Linked DNA regions of Homo sapiens: regions 2 and 3 are each linked to region 1. The links are contacts of gene promoters, found by promoter capture Hi-C in blood cells and fetal thymus (Javierre and others, 2016). All regions are on one chromosome and are shown on one strand. The core of a region is centred on a gene start or on the middle of the fragment in contact, and the rest is flanking DNA. Distances in the headings are between cores, read along the strand shown.

Region 1 (3,773 bases), core at 798-3,297:
TACATTGATGCCACAAACACAGTGTAGTACTGCCAGTCAGGGCACATCCACCTCCTGGGACTCATGGGACTCTTCTGAAACTTAGTTCTTCCATCTGTCTGTCTTTTCTGAAACCACTCATGATCATTTGTGTAAGCACCGAATAAATTAGAATCACGCCAAGGGCCGATGAAAGGTTTTTTGCTCTCCTGAACTGTGTAGCAACCCTCCAAACAGTGTGTGGGGTGGGGGCGGGGGAAGCGGGGGCCTGTGTTTTTACAGTGTGCCATGGCCTAAGTGACACCTGTAATGGAGCAGAAAGAAAAGATATTTCCTTTTTTAAACCAGTGATTTATTTTTCCAACAGATTGAAAGGTTTTGGACAAAGATTCCATGAAAACCTCCTATAAACAGGAATTGGACAATTAAATACTGTTGTAATCAGCCTTTCTCCTGGTGGGTTCATAGCTCTGAGCTTCAAGTAAATACGGTTTGATCAAGAATGGCCTTTAAATGGGAGTGAGCCATTGTGCACCACGTCCGTTCTCACACTGCGATGCAGCTTTCCTAATGCCATGGGTCTGCTGTAGGTTTTGCTCAGTGATATTTGTTTTAGTGGATGAAGTTCTCATTTACCATAAGAGAGAGAAGTCAGGATAATTGTTTGATGAAATTATAGTATGCAGAATGGGAAACCACCCTTTTTTAAAACAAATATATCCTCACGTGTCAACTTCACAGTCAGGCTTCCTTTCTTGGGGAGAGCCCTTTCTCCATTCAGATCAAAGGTTAGCCTGTGAATTCTCCCCCAGAGAAATGTGGGAGCCCAGAGGTGGCTGAATATGACCAGCTAGAAGCAATGTCTTCTTAACTGGGCCACCAAGGAGCTTCAAGACCAGTGCACATTTTCTAGTTCAGTGGTTTTCAAATGCCAAGTTTTGATGCATTATTAGCTTGTGAAATAAATGTAGTGGCCTCTAACTAGCGTTTTGTAAAACAAAGTAAAATAGAGGAAACATTTTTAAACCAGATTTTTCCAAATGGAAGGGGAAGTTTTGTTTTTGTGAAACTTTGGTTTTGGGTATGGTTGTGTGTGGGTGTGTGCACTGTGATATTGTGTACAATGGTGATTTTTACAGTGGATCACTGACAGAGAATTTGGATAAACACCGTTGTAGTGCATCCAGGAGAGATTTGCAATCATAGGGAGAGGTCGTTTTAGACAATTACTCCTGCAAGTCATACATTTGAAGTTAAAACAACAGCCACAATGACAATAACAAAAACAGTAAACCTGGTAGGCAGGCAGGTGAGGGGTAGGGGAGGGGGTCAGGAAACATGAAAATGAAGAATCCTGGACTGGACTGGCTGCACTACTTGCGATTAAACTGCTAGACGTGTTCCTGCAGCTGGGAGGCAGCAGCCCTTCCCAGGAGCACCACATTGCCTGAGCAGAAGGTCCAAGTTATAATCTGGTGGGCAACCTTATGTTTAAAAACAGACACACAGACCTGCCAGCCTCACCTGGTATTGGCGAGAGAATCCTAAGGTGTTCGTTGCTAGTCTTGCTTGGGGGAGGTGAACACAAAACAACAGTGCATTAGAAAGAGCCTCGCCTTTGGAGTCAGACAGACCTGGGTCTCACTGTTAGCTCTGCCATTTATTAGCCCTTGGGCAAAACGTTTCATATTTCTCTTAGCCTCAGTTTCCACATCTGTCAATTGGGCATAAAAAGATATACTTCATAAGGTGGCTCTGAGGGTTAAGTAGAGTAGCCTATCTCGGACAGCCTAATAAGTATTCGTTCCCTCCACTTACCTTGTGTACCGTAGCTCCCCCTGCCACTGGGAAACAGACCACCTCGTAGGGAGGACGCTTTTCTTTTCCTTTGCCGTCATCGCTCATAGCGGTGCAAGCGCGTGGACAAGCAGTGGGAAGGGGATGGTCCAGGAGCCACACTCAGGACTCTAAAGAGGTACCTCAGGCAGTGATCCCCTGCCTGGAGTTGGACCCCCCTACAAAGAGCCAGGTTGTGGCAGTGACCTCCCCGTGATTCCGAGGGCTGCCACATCACCACCAAAGTCCAGCTCTCCTGCTTCGGCACAAGGCTGTGACTTGTCATTGATGTTTTGGGTCACGGACCTTTTCCACTCACGGAATTCCACTTCTGTTCTCCAAGCAGCTCTCTGTCTAACCAGTAACTGCGACTCTCCTCCAGGTGGAAGATCTCACCGCCAGCCATGATGCTGCTCTCCTAGAGATGGAAAATAACCACACAGTTGCCATCACAATCCTGCAGGATGACCACGACCACAAAGTCCAAGGTAGCTCCCAGCCTCGTGTGCAGCAGGCAGGGGTGGGTGGTGCAATCCGAGCCTTTCCTGCTGCAGATGTGTGGAGCCCCCCTTCCTCTCTTGTCCCTCCTTTCCTGTCTTTCCCTCCTGGTGCATTTTTTCCTGTTGGCTCCTGGGAAAAGAAGAGATAGGAATTAAGGATCCAGGTAGTTAGCTGCTTCTTTCCTCCAATGCAGTTATCCTCAACCTTGATGAATACTGGAATTCCCCGTCCCCTGGGGAGCGGTAACAAAAGACCAATGCCAGCCTCAGTCCCACCCCAGGGATTCTGATGTCCTTGGTCCATAGTGCAGTGTAAACATCAAGATTTCTTAAGACTCCTTAGGGGATTCTAATGTGTAGCCACACTTGAGGGCCACTGTCTAAAGCAGGCATGGAAATCGTGCACTTTTTTTTTTCCTCTTTTTTTTTTTTTTTTTTTTTGAGACAGAGTCTCACTTTGTTGCCCAGGCTGGAGTGCAGTGGTGCGATCTCAGCTCACTGAAACTTCTGCCTCCTGGGTTCAAGCGATTCTCCAGCCCCAGCTGGAGCCTCCAGCCCGAGTAGCTGGGATTACAGGTGCCCACTACCACACCCGGCTAGGCTTTATGATGTTTATTGCCTTATAAAAACAAATGGAAGCCCCGGCATGGATACACTTTCTTCATATTTATGATGTTCTCCGGGCCACTGCAGCATCTGGTTGGATCGGGGTATCCAGAGCTTACACTCATAGACCACATTCACCGTGGGTGTGCGTTAAGTCTCCAGATCTTTCTTTCTACATTTTTGTAACTTTGAATTATCTTTGGGTTTTACGTGGGTCATAACAGCATCATTACTAAGTTCCAGTGAGATTTTCCTTTGTGAAAGAGGCAGCATTTTACACTTTCACATGCATTTACATTAATATGTACAGTTTATTTTTCAACTTTCTCTCGCTTTACTTTTCCCTCCCAGTCAGCTGGTTGTTAAAGTGTGTATTAAAGGCCGGGAGCCGTGGCTCACACCCGTAATCCCAGCACTTTGGGAGGCTGAGGCAGGTGGATCACCTGAGGTCAGGAGTTCAAGACCAGCCTGGCAAACATGGCAAAACCCCGTCTCTACCAAAAATACAAAAATTAGCCAGGCGCGGTGGGCTGGCTACACGGGAGGTTGAGGCAGGAGAATCGCCTGAACCCTGGGAGGCAGAGGTTGCAGTGAGTCAAGATTGCGCCATTGCACTCCAGCAACAAGAGCGAAACTCCGCCTCAAAAAAAAAGTGTGTATTAAAAGCAATGACAGTTAACAATACATTGATAAACTTTTACAATTTGAGAATTAGCATCAGAGTTTTTATTATTGTTAAAATGTTCTCTGTGAACAAGACCCAGTGTGCCATAACCAAGGTCTGTGTTATTGTCACCCTCAAGCACCACCCCCACTACCTCTGGGAACTATTAGTAAGTGACCAAGCTGGAG
Region 2 (3,773 bases), core at 383-2,882, 630 kb after region 1:
CTGAAGTTTGAGAACCACGACGCTAATCTTATCTTCGCTGCGGTGTCAGATTTAACTAGGTTTAAAAGAGTCAGAGTAGATCTAAAAGAATGAATTTAAAATAGGGCTTGGAATATAAGAAATAAAGCTTGAAAAAATACAAAATCGTAACTCCCAACTTCTATCCAGTGCAAGACGCCCTGCATAAATCAGCAATGGAGACTATGAAAAGAGTCAGATAGGACAAAAGGGGAAGGGACTAGGTTCAATGGAACCCAGAGAGAGGCTTCCGGTGATGTGCCACAGGGTTCTGCACTGTCAGGCCCACTAAACATCTCCATGATCACTGATAAGACTAAACAAATACTCACCAAATTTTAAAACTATGAATTTAATTAAGTTGACAGCAATCCCACCTGTTTGATAGGTCTGAGAAAATGTATTAGTCCATTTTCACACTGCTATAAAGAATACCTGAGACTGGGTAATTTGTAAACAGAAGAGGTTTAATTGACACACGGTTCTACAAGGCTGGAGAGGCCTCAGGAAACTTACAATCATGGTGGAAGGTGAAGGGGAAGCAGGGCACTTCTTACATGGTGGCAGGCGAGAGAGATAGCACACGCAGAGGAAACTGTCACTATTAAACCAGATCTCGTGAGAACTCCCTCACAATCACAAGAACAGCATGGGGGAAACTGCCCCCATGATCCAATCACCCCCAACCACCTCCAACCAGGTCCGTCCCTTGACACATGGGGATTACAATTCCAGATGAGATTTGGGTGGGGACACAGAGCCAAACCATATCAGAAGGTATCAACAGAATTGGAACTGCAGTTTAAAGCCAACAACGTGTCGTTTATTTGAGATAACATATTGTTGTCAGGATCAAGCAATCAACAGCACCAATGCAAATGAATTAGGGTCTGTAAAGACAATATATTTAGTAAGCACCAATGCAAATGAATTAGAGTCTGTAAAGACAATGTGCTTAGTAAGCACCGATGCAAATGAATTGGGGTCTGTAAAGACAATGTGCTCAGTATAAAAGTCAACAATTTGATGTGACCACCAGAAACACTAAAGAGATGCTAGGCTCTCTTACAGAAGTGTTGTCTTTCAAGGTAGACAACCTTGTGGTAGAGTGAAAAAAATCCCCTCCTCTCAACCGAAGATATCTAATCCCTGGAAACGGGGAATGTTCCTTTATATGGAGAGAAGGGGAAGGAGGTCTTTGCAAGTGTGATTGAATTAAGGATGTTAAGATGGGGAGACTATCCAGTTGGGTCCTAAATACAATCACATGCATTCTTATACCAGAGAGGCAGAGGGTGATTTGACCACACACAAAACAGAAGGAAATATAAAGACACAGCAGAGAGAGCTTTGCAGATGCTGGCCTCAAAGATCAGAGTGATGCAGTCAACGAATGTCGGCAGCCCCTGGAAGCTGGGAGAGGCAAGGAGCAGATTCTCTCCTGGAGCCTCTGGAGGGAGCATAGCCCTGGTTTGAGCTCCGTGATACTGATTTTGGAATTCTGGTCTCCAGAACTGTGAGAGAATAAACATCTGGTTTTTGGGGTTTTTTTTGTTTGTTTTGTTTGTTTGTTTGTTTGTTTGTTTTTTTCAGACAGAGTCTCACTCCGACACCCGGGCTGGACTGCAGTGGTTCGATCTCAGCTCACGGCAACCTCTGCCTCCCAGGCTCAAGCGATTCTCCTGCCTCAGCCTCCCGAGTAGCTGGGACTACAGGCACATGCCACCAGGCCAGGCTAATTTTTTGTATTTTTAGTAGAAACAGGGTTTCACCATGTTAGCCAGGATGGTCTCAATCTCCTGACCTCGTGATCCGCCCCCCCGGGCCTCCCAAAGTGCTGGGATTACAGGCATGAGCCACCGTGCCTGGACAATATCTGTTGTTTTAAGCCACTAAGTTTGCAGTAAATTTGTTATAGCAGCCCCAGGAAACTAACACAGGGTAAGAGAAGAGAGTTCTCTTTCATTCTTCACTTGATCATACTGTGTTTGGTTCTGAGCACCACAATTTGGGAGATACATTTACCAAAAGAGGCATTAAGAGTTTTCTGAATGGTACCAACAGGAAAAGTTAGGATTCCAGTTGTAAGATGCAAGGTGGCGAGTTTCAGCTTGAAATAAGGAAGCACTGTCTGGACAAAGAGGGAATGGACAGCCTCAGAAGATAGTGACTCCACCGTGGCTGAAGGTATTCAAGCAGAGACTGTGCAGCCATTTGTTAGGAATGTGAATATTGTCAAGAGAATTCAAGCCCTGAGGCAGGGTGGATTCAATGCTGTGTAAGATTCTTTGAACCCAGATTCTGAGGCTGGGTGATTTTGCGGCTGTTCTCAGCTCTCACTGGAGCCGAGGCAGACAGGAAGAAAGAAGGCACACAAGGTTGTAAAAGTCTGAGCGTGCAATGATTAAACCCAGGCACGGATGTGGCTTTGGAGATGGAGAGGAAGGAATGCATTTTTAAAAAGGTTTTGGAGGCTTAAGTAATCGGTCTTTGGCAGCAGCTTGAATTTGGAGAGAGAGCATTTATTAGGTGCCTCCTAAGAGCACTGCCCAGGAGCCATGGGCAAAATAAATATAAGATGGACGATGATCCCCAGGGAGAAAGCAGAGCACACATGTAATCGTTAGGAAATAAGGTTCCAATCATGATTTTTAAAATATGGATAAAAGGGTAGAAACAAAGGGATCAAAGAAGGCTAGATTCACCAGTTTTTGGTTTTGTTTTTGAAGAAGCAGGCTTTGAAAGATGGCCAAATCTAGTGAAGGGAAGAGCAAAAAGCACTTTGGAAAAAGGAGAAAGTGTGACATTAGCAGAGAGGTGCAGGAGGGGCATGAATATCTGGGGTTGAAGCATAACACATGCTGGTGAGGATTGTGTGGACAACAGTAGGGAAGGGTTTGTATCCTCATCGATAAGAGGCCCAGACTCAGATGCCAGGCTTGAAGCTAAAGTTGCAGGTCCAACCATGAGGAAGAGGTTGTGCAGGTGCAAAGCACACAACATGTGCTTGTTGTCACATTCAATTTGAAAGCAGCTGCAGTGTCCCAGAGAGGATCTTGGAGGCCTAGAGGTGGGGAAATGCTTCTTAAACAAAACCTCAAAAGTGCAAAGCATAAGGGAAAAGCTTAATGAATTTGAACACATCCCACTCAAAGGGTTCTATTCAAAGAAGAACAAGGTTATGAGACAGATGAAAGATTGGGAGAAGACACTTGCAATGTCAAAAATAACTAGGAAACAGTATCTAAAATATGCAAGAACCTTGCAAATCAACAAAAATGATGGAAACCCCCTCTGCTCAAAAAACAAAGGCTCAGAAGAGGCAATTTGCAGGAGAGGAAACCCCCCTGAATAACAGGCATGTGAAGAGATGTTTAAACTCATTAGTAGAGAAATACAAATTAAATAGCAATGAGATATCACTTCTATTCACTCAACTGGCCAAAACCAGGAAACTGGATAATGTCAAGTGGTGGTGGGGATGTAGGAATGTTGGAATTCTTGGGCCTTGCTGGGGGTTTGTAGACTGGTACAGCCAATTTGGAGAGCAATACTTCATCAAATTAAATGTACCTGTCTTCTATTTCCCAACAATACCACCCCTGGACATGAATCATAGAAAAAATCCTTCCACACACCCTAAGGGACCATGCACAAAGAGACTTGCTGCAGTTCTTTCTGTGGCAGTAGGTGTCATCCATGGAGGTGGAGGAGCACAAGTGAAAAAGGTACACTCTGAAATACTCTATCAGAGT
Region 3 (3,773 bases), core at 843-3,342, 610 kb after region 1:
CCTGCCTCAGCCTCCTGAGTAGCTGGGATTACAGGAGCGCACCACCACACCCAGCCAATTTTTTGTATTTTTAGTAGCAATGAGGTTTCACCATGTTACCTGTGGCTGAACTCCTGACCTCAGGTTATCTGCCCGCCTCAGCCTCCCAAAGTGCTAGGACTACAGGTGTGAGCCACCGCGCCTGGCCTATATCTTTAACCTCCCAAAGCTTCCATTTTTCTTACATGTAAAGTAGGTGTGATCATAATCCTGACTTTGTAAGGTTTAGAAATAACTTATATAAATCATTAGCATTGGGCTATCCATGAAACAGGCACTTAAATAGCAGAAATTGTCATCACTTCCAGTTGTATGAGTCTTAGCCTTGTGACAAAATTGTGAAACAGGGCACTGCTATCACTTTTAGACTCAAGGATCACAGATGCCTTGCTCAGTGGGGCTGGAGAAGCAAACCAGTGATAAATTTGGTGCTGAGCTCGTGCAGCAAGACCCAGACCCCGTGCTGCTGTCCAGACCAACGTCCCCTCCTGAAGAAGTGAGTTTTAAAAAGACATCCAGGTTGGAGCCATAATTAGAAATGACTGAGAGCCTTAAGCGAAAACAGCAAGCTTTTACTAATCAATAACAGTCATTTCTTTCAGAGAGAAAAGACAGATTTCAAAAGACATTGGAATTGGAAATGCATCCAGGATCCTCGGCCTGAGTGCTGAGAAGGTGTGGAAGTGTAGCCTAACATTCCGAACTGGAAGCCGTCCCTCACTGCCAAGCAAGGTCACCACCAGGCAACTCCTCCCAACCTCCAACAATCCCCTCATTGGGAACCCTTAGCCTCTGCCCAGACACCCCAGGCCCAGTTTTCTCAAGAGACTTCTGGCATTTCGAAAGCAAACCATCTTTCACTTTTCTCTTCTGGATGAAAACTCTGATTTTTTAAAAAAGCTCCTTTTAAAGAGATTTCCATTGTGAACATCCTTACACCTGCACAAATGCACTCATCTGGCCAGTTGCTGTTCAGAATAACAGTGCCAGAGACAACACTCACCTACACTCCTCCACCTCTTGTCCTGTCTCCCTCCTCCCCCGACATTAGGTTGGGGCTGCATGACTAGTGTGGCCAAAGAAATCTGAGCAGCAGCTTCGGGCTTCCACCCAGGCTGAGGTCATTAAGAGCTAGTGTGGCTTCTCCATCTCTTTCTTTCCCTGTCCTGGAGGCCTCCATCTCTCTCATCCTCTACAGAGGAGTAGCTGCAAGAAAGCAGAGAGCCACCGAACCCACATCAGGCTTTGAGAGTGAGATCTAAACCTGAGACTTGAAGGTTTGTCTACTGTGGCCGCTACCATTAGTACCCGAACTAATAATGTAGGGTCAGTTTTCAGACAGCCCCTTTCACATTCTCAGAAGCAGATGCAATTTTCTATCCCATGCTCACGTCTCAAGCTTGTATGGAGCCTCCACTGTGTGCCAGGCACTACTGGGATGGGGATTAAGAAGGTGAGTAAATCCCTCCCCGGCCTTCCCTAAAGGATTGTGCCATCTATTAGGGCAAGACAGACACATAATGAGCTCACACTCCCGGACAGATCTGTCTCGATGGTGTGGGCAAAGTAATGATCTCTGAAGAACTGTCTCCCGGCTCTCGTTTCAGCAAATCCAGAGTAATCACGGGCGCTAACAGGAAATGTTAGTATCAGAGAGTGTACTTTCTTTGGTCAGGCATATTTTATTGAATCACATTCAATTAGGCTATTAATGGATTCTTTTTTTTTTTTTTTTTTTTTTTTTTTTTTTTTTTTTTTGAGACGGAGTCTCGCTCTGTCACCCAGGCTGGAGTGCCGTGGCGCGATCTTGGCTCACTCCAAGCTCCGCCTCCCGGGTTCACGCCATTCTCCTGCCTCAGCCTCCGGAGTAGCTGGGACTACAGGCACCCGCCACCACACCCGGCTAATTTTTTTGTATTTTTAGTAGAGACGGGGTTTCATCGTGTTAACCAGGATGGTCTCGATCACCTGACCTCGTGATCCGCCCGTCTCGGCCTCCCAAAGTGCTGGGATTACAGGCGTGAGCCACCGCGCCCGGCTATTAATGGATTCTTAATTCTTCATTTAATGAGCACATACTGACCCAGGCACATTCTTAGTGGAGATAGACCTCACCCCAGGAAAGACACAGTCAAGGAAAAGTTCAATAAGAAAATAAACTTCACAGGAAAGTGTTTGTTCTCTCAAGTTATGAAATAAAAAACAAAGCAGGCTTGAGGGGTCATTTGATACCTACTAGGTTGTAAAAAAAAGTATATACAGTTTTATACTGTAAAAAAAAATTATAAAACATCTTTGTTAGTTTGCTAGGGCTTCCATAACAAAATACCACAAACTGAGTGGCTTAAACAACAGAAATTTATTGTCTCACAATTCTGGAGGCCAGAAGCCCAAGATCAAGGTGAGGGCAGGGCTGGTTTCTTCTGAGGACTGAGGCAACCTCAGCCCCAGGCCTCTGTCTCCAGCTTCTGGGGCTTCACGGGCAGTCTCTGTGCTCCTCGGTTTATGGATGCTTCACCCCATCTCTGCCTTCATCTGCAAGTAGTGCCCTCCCTGTCTGTGCACCTGTCTCTGCGTCCAAATTTCCCCTTTTTTGTAAGGACAACAATCATATTGGATTAGGGCCCACCCTAATGATCTCATCTTATTTTGGTCATCTGCAAAAACCTTATTTCCAAATAAGGTCACATTGAAAAGTTCTGGTGGTTTAAGCTTCAACATCTTTAGAAGACACAATCAAATCCTAACAATACCGGCTCTGGCAATACTGAGTTGAAACTGGTCTGCTCACACAATGATGTCTGTAGCCGTAGAAATAGCTGTAAAATGTTAGGGAAGCAATATGGTAATGCGCAGCAGTAACTATCAAGATGAACAGCCTTTGGCCGAGAGGCCCCACTCCCAGGCATGTATCTCACACCTGCTGTGCAGGTCAAATCAGGATGTTAGTCTCCCCAGGGGTACATAGCAGTGAGTGGAAAGGACTCAGTGCTGTGGGTTACAAACATTTTTCCACACCCATCAATTTAATCATATTTCAATATATGTATATTTTATAGTCACCATTTATAGCCCTCCAATGTGCATTTTCTGTTGCTACTAGAACTTTGGTGGGAAAGTTTGAAAAGATCTGTCTTTGGGAAATAATTCAACATAAGCCAAAACCTCCAGATACAAAGATGATTACTGCAGCATTATTGCTATTCCCAAACTAGAAACAAGGACCCATTCCAGCTATTATTTGCCAAGCACCTTCTGTCTATCAGGCATTGTGCTAGGGCCTGGGGATGCAGTGGTAAAACATCATTCCTAGTCCCTATTTGCAAAGAGCCTGTGGCTTCCCATTGATGAATGTTTTAATACATTATATTCTTAACATATTAGTGTAACATGCAAGCACTAAATGGTAGCTAAGAAAAATGTAAATAACATTTAAAATTCATAAAGATTTAATTGAAGATGGCATATTATACTATAACTATTTGAAATATGCATGCTTCTTGACTTTTGTCTGTTTTGTTCACTTCTGTATCCCTGATGCTGAGAACAATACTTGGCATGTAGTAAGCGCTTAATAAGAATTTGGCATTGACCAAAATGGTGAAACCCCATCTCTACCAAAAATACAAAAATTAGCTGGGCATGGTGGCGCATGCCTGTAATCCCAGCTACTCAGGAGGCTGAGGCGGGAGAATCACTTGAACCCGGAAGGCAGATGTTGCAGTGAGCCGAGA

The links. The method cuts DNA at HindIII sites, captures the fragments that hold promoters and counts their contacts. A CHiCAGO score of 5 or more calls a contact.
Region 2: a fragment that was not itself captured here is called in contact with the fragment with the promoter of MTUS2-AS1 in region 1 in 14 of 17 cell types (total B cells, monocytes, naive CD4 T cells and 11 more); the score reaches 14.2 in total B cells.
Region 3: a fragment that was not itself captured here is called in contact with the fragment with the promoter of MTUS2-AS1 in region 1 in 1 of 17 cell types (neutrophils); the score reaches 7.6 in neutrophils.

The regions. Positions count from the first base shown.
Region 1 is chr13:29,485,703-29,489,475 of GRCh38, forward strand. MTUS2-AS1 (MTUS2 antisense RNA 1) reads right to left here and starts at 2,048. Exons shown (of 3, transcript NR_046378.1): 1 at 1,798-2,048. It overlaps MTUS2 (microtubule associated scaffold protein 2), which reads left to right. Exons shown (of 16, transcript NM_001033602.4): 11 at 2,198-2,303. The HindIII fragment of the contact is 24,751 bases long and covers 1-3,773 here.
Region 2 is chr13:30,117,293-30,121,065 of GRCh38, forward strand. No RefSeq gene overlaps it. Among named protein-coding and RNA genes, the nearest start is that of LINC00365, 10 kb to the left of the region's middle. The HindIII fragment of the contact is 3,015 bases long and covers 126-3,140 here.
Region 3 is chr13:30,097,530-30,101,302 of GRCh38, forward strand. No RefSeq gene overlaps it. Among named protein-coding and RNA genes, the nearest start is that of LINC00365, 9.5 kb to the right of the region's middle. The HindIII fragment of the contact is 1,313 bases long and covers 1,437-2,749 here.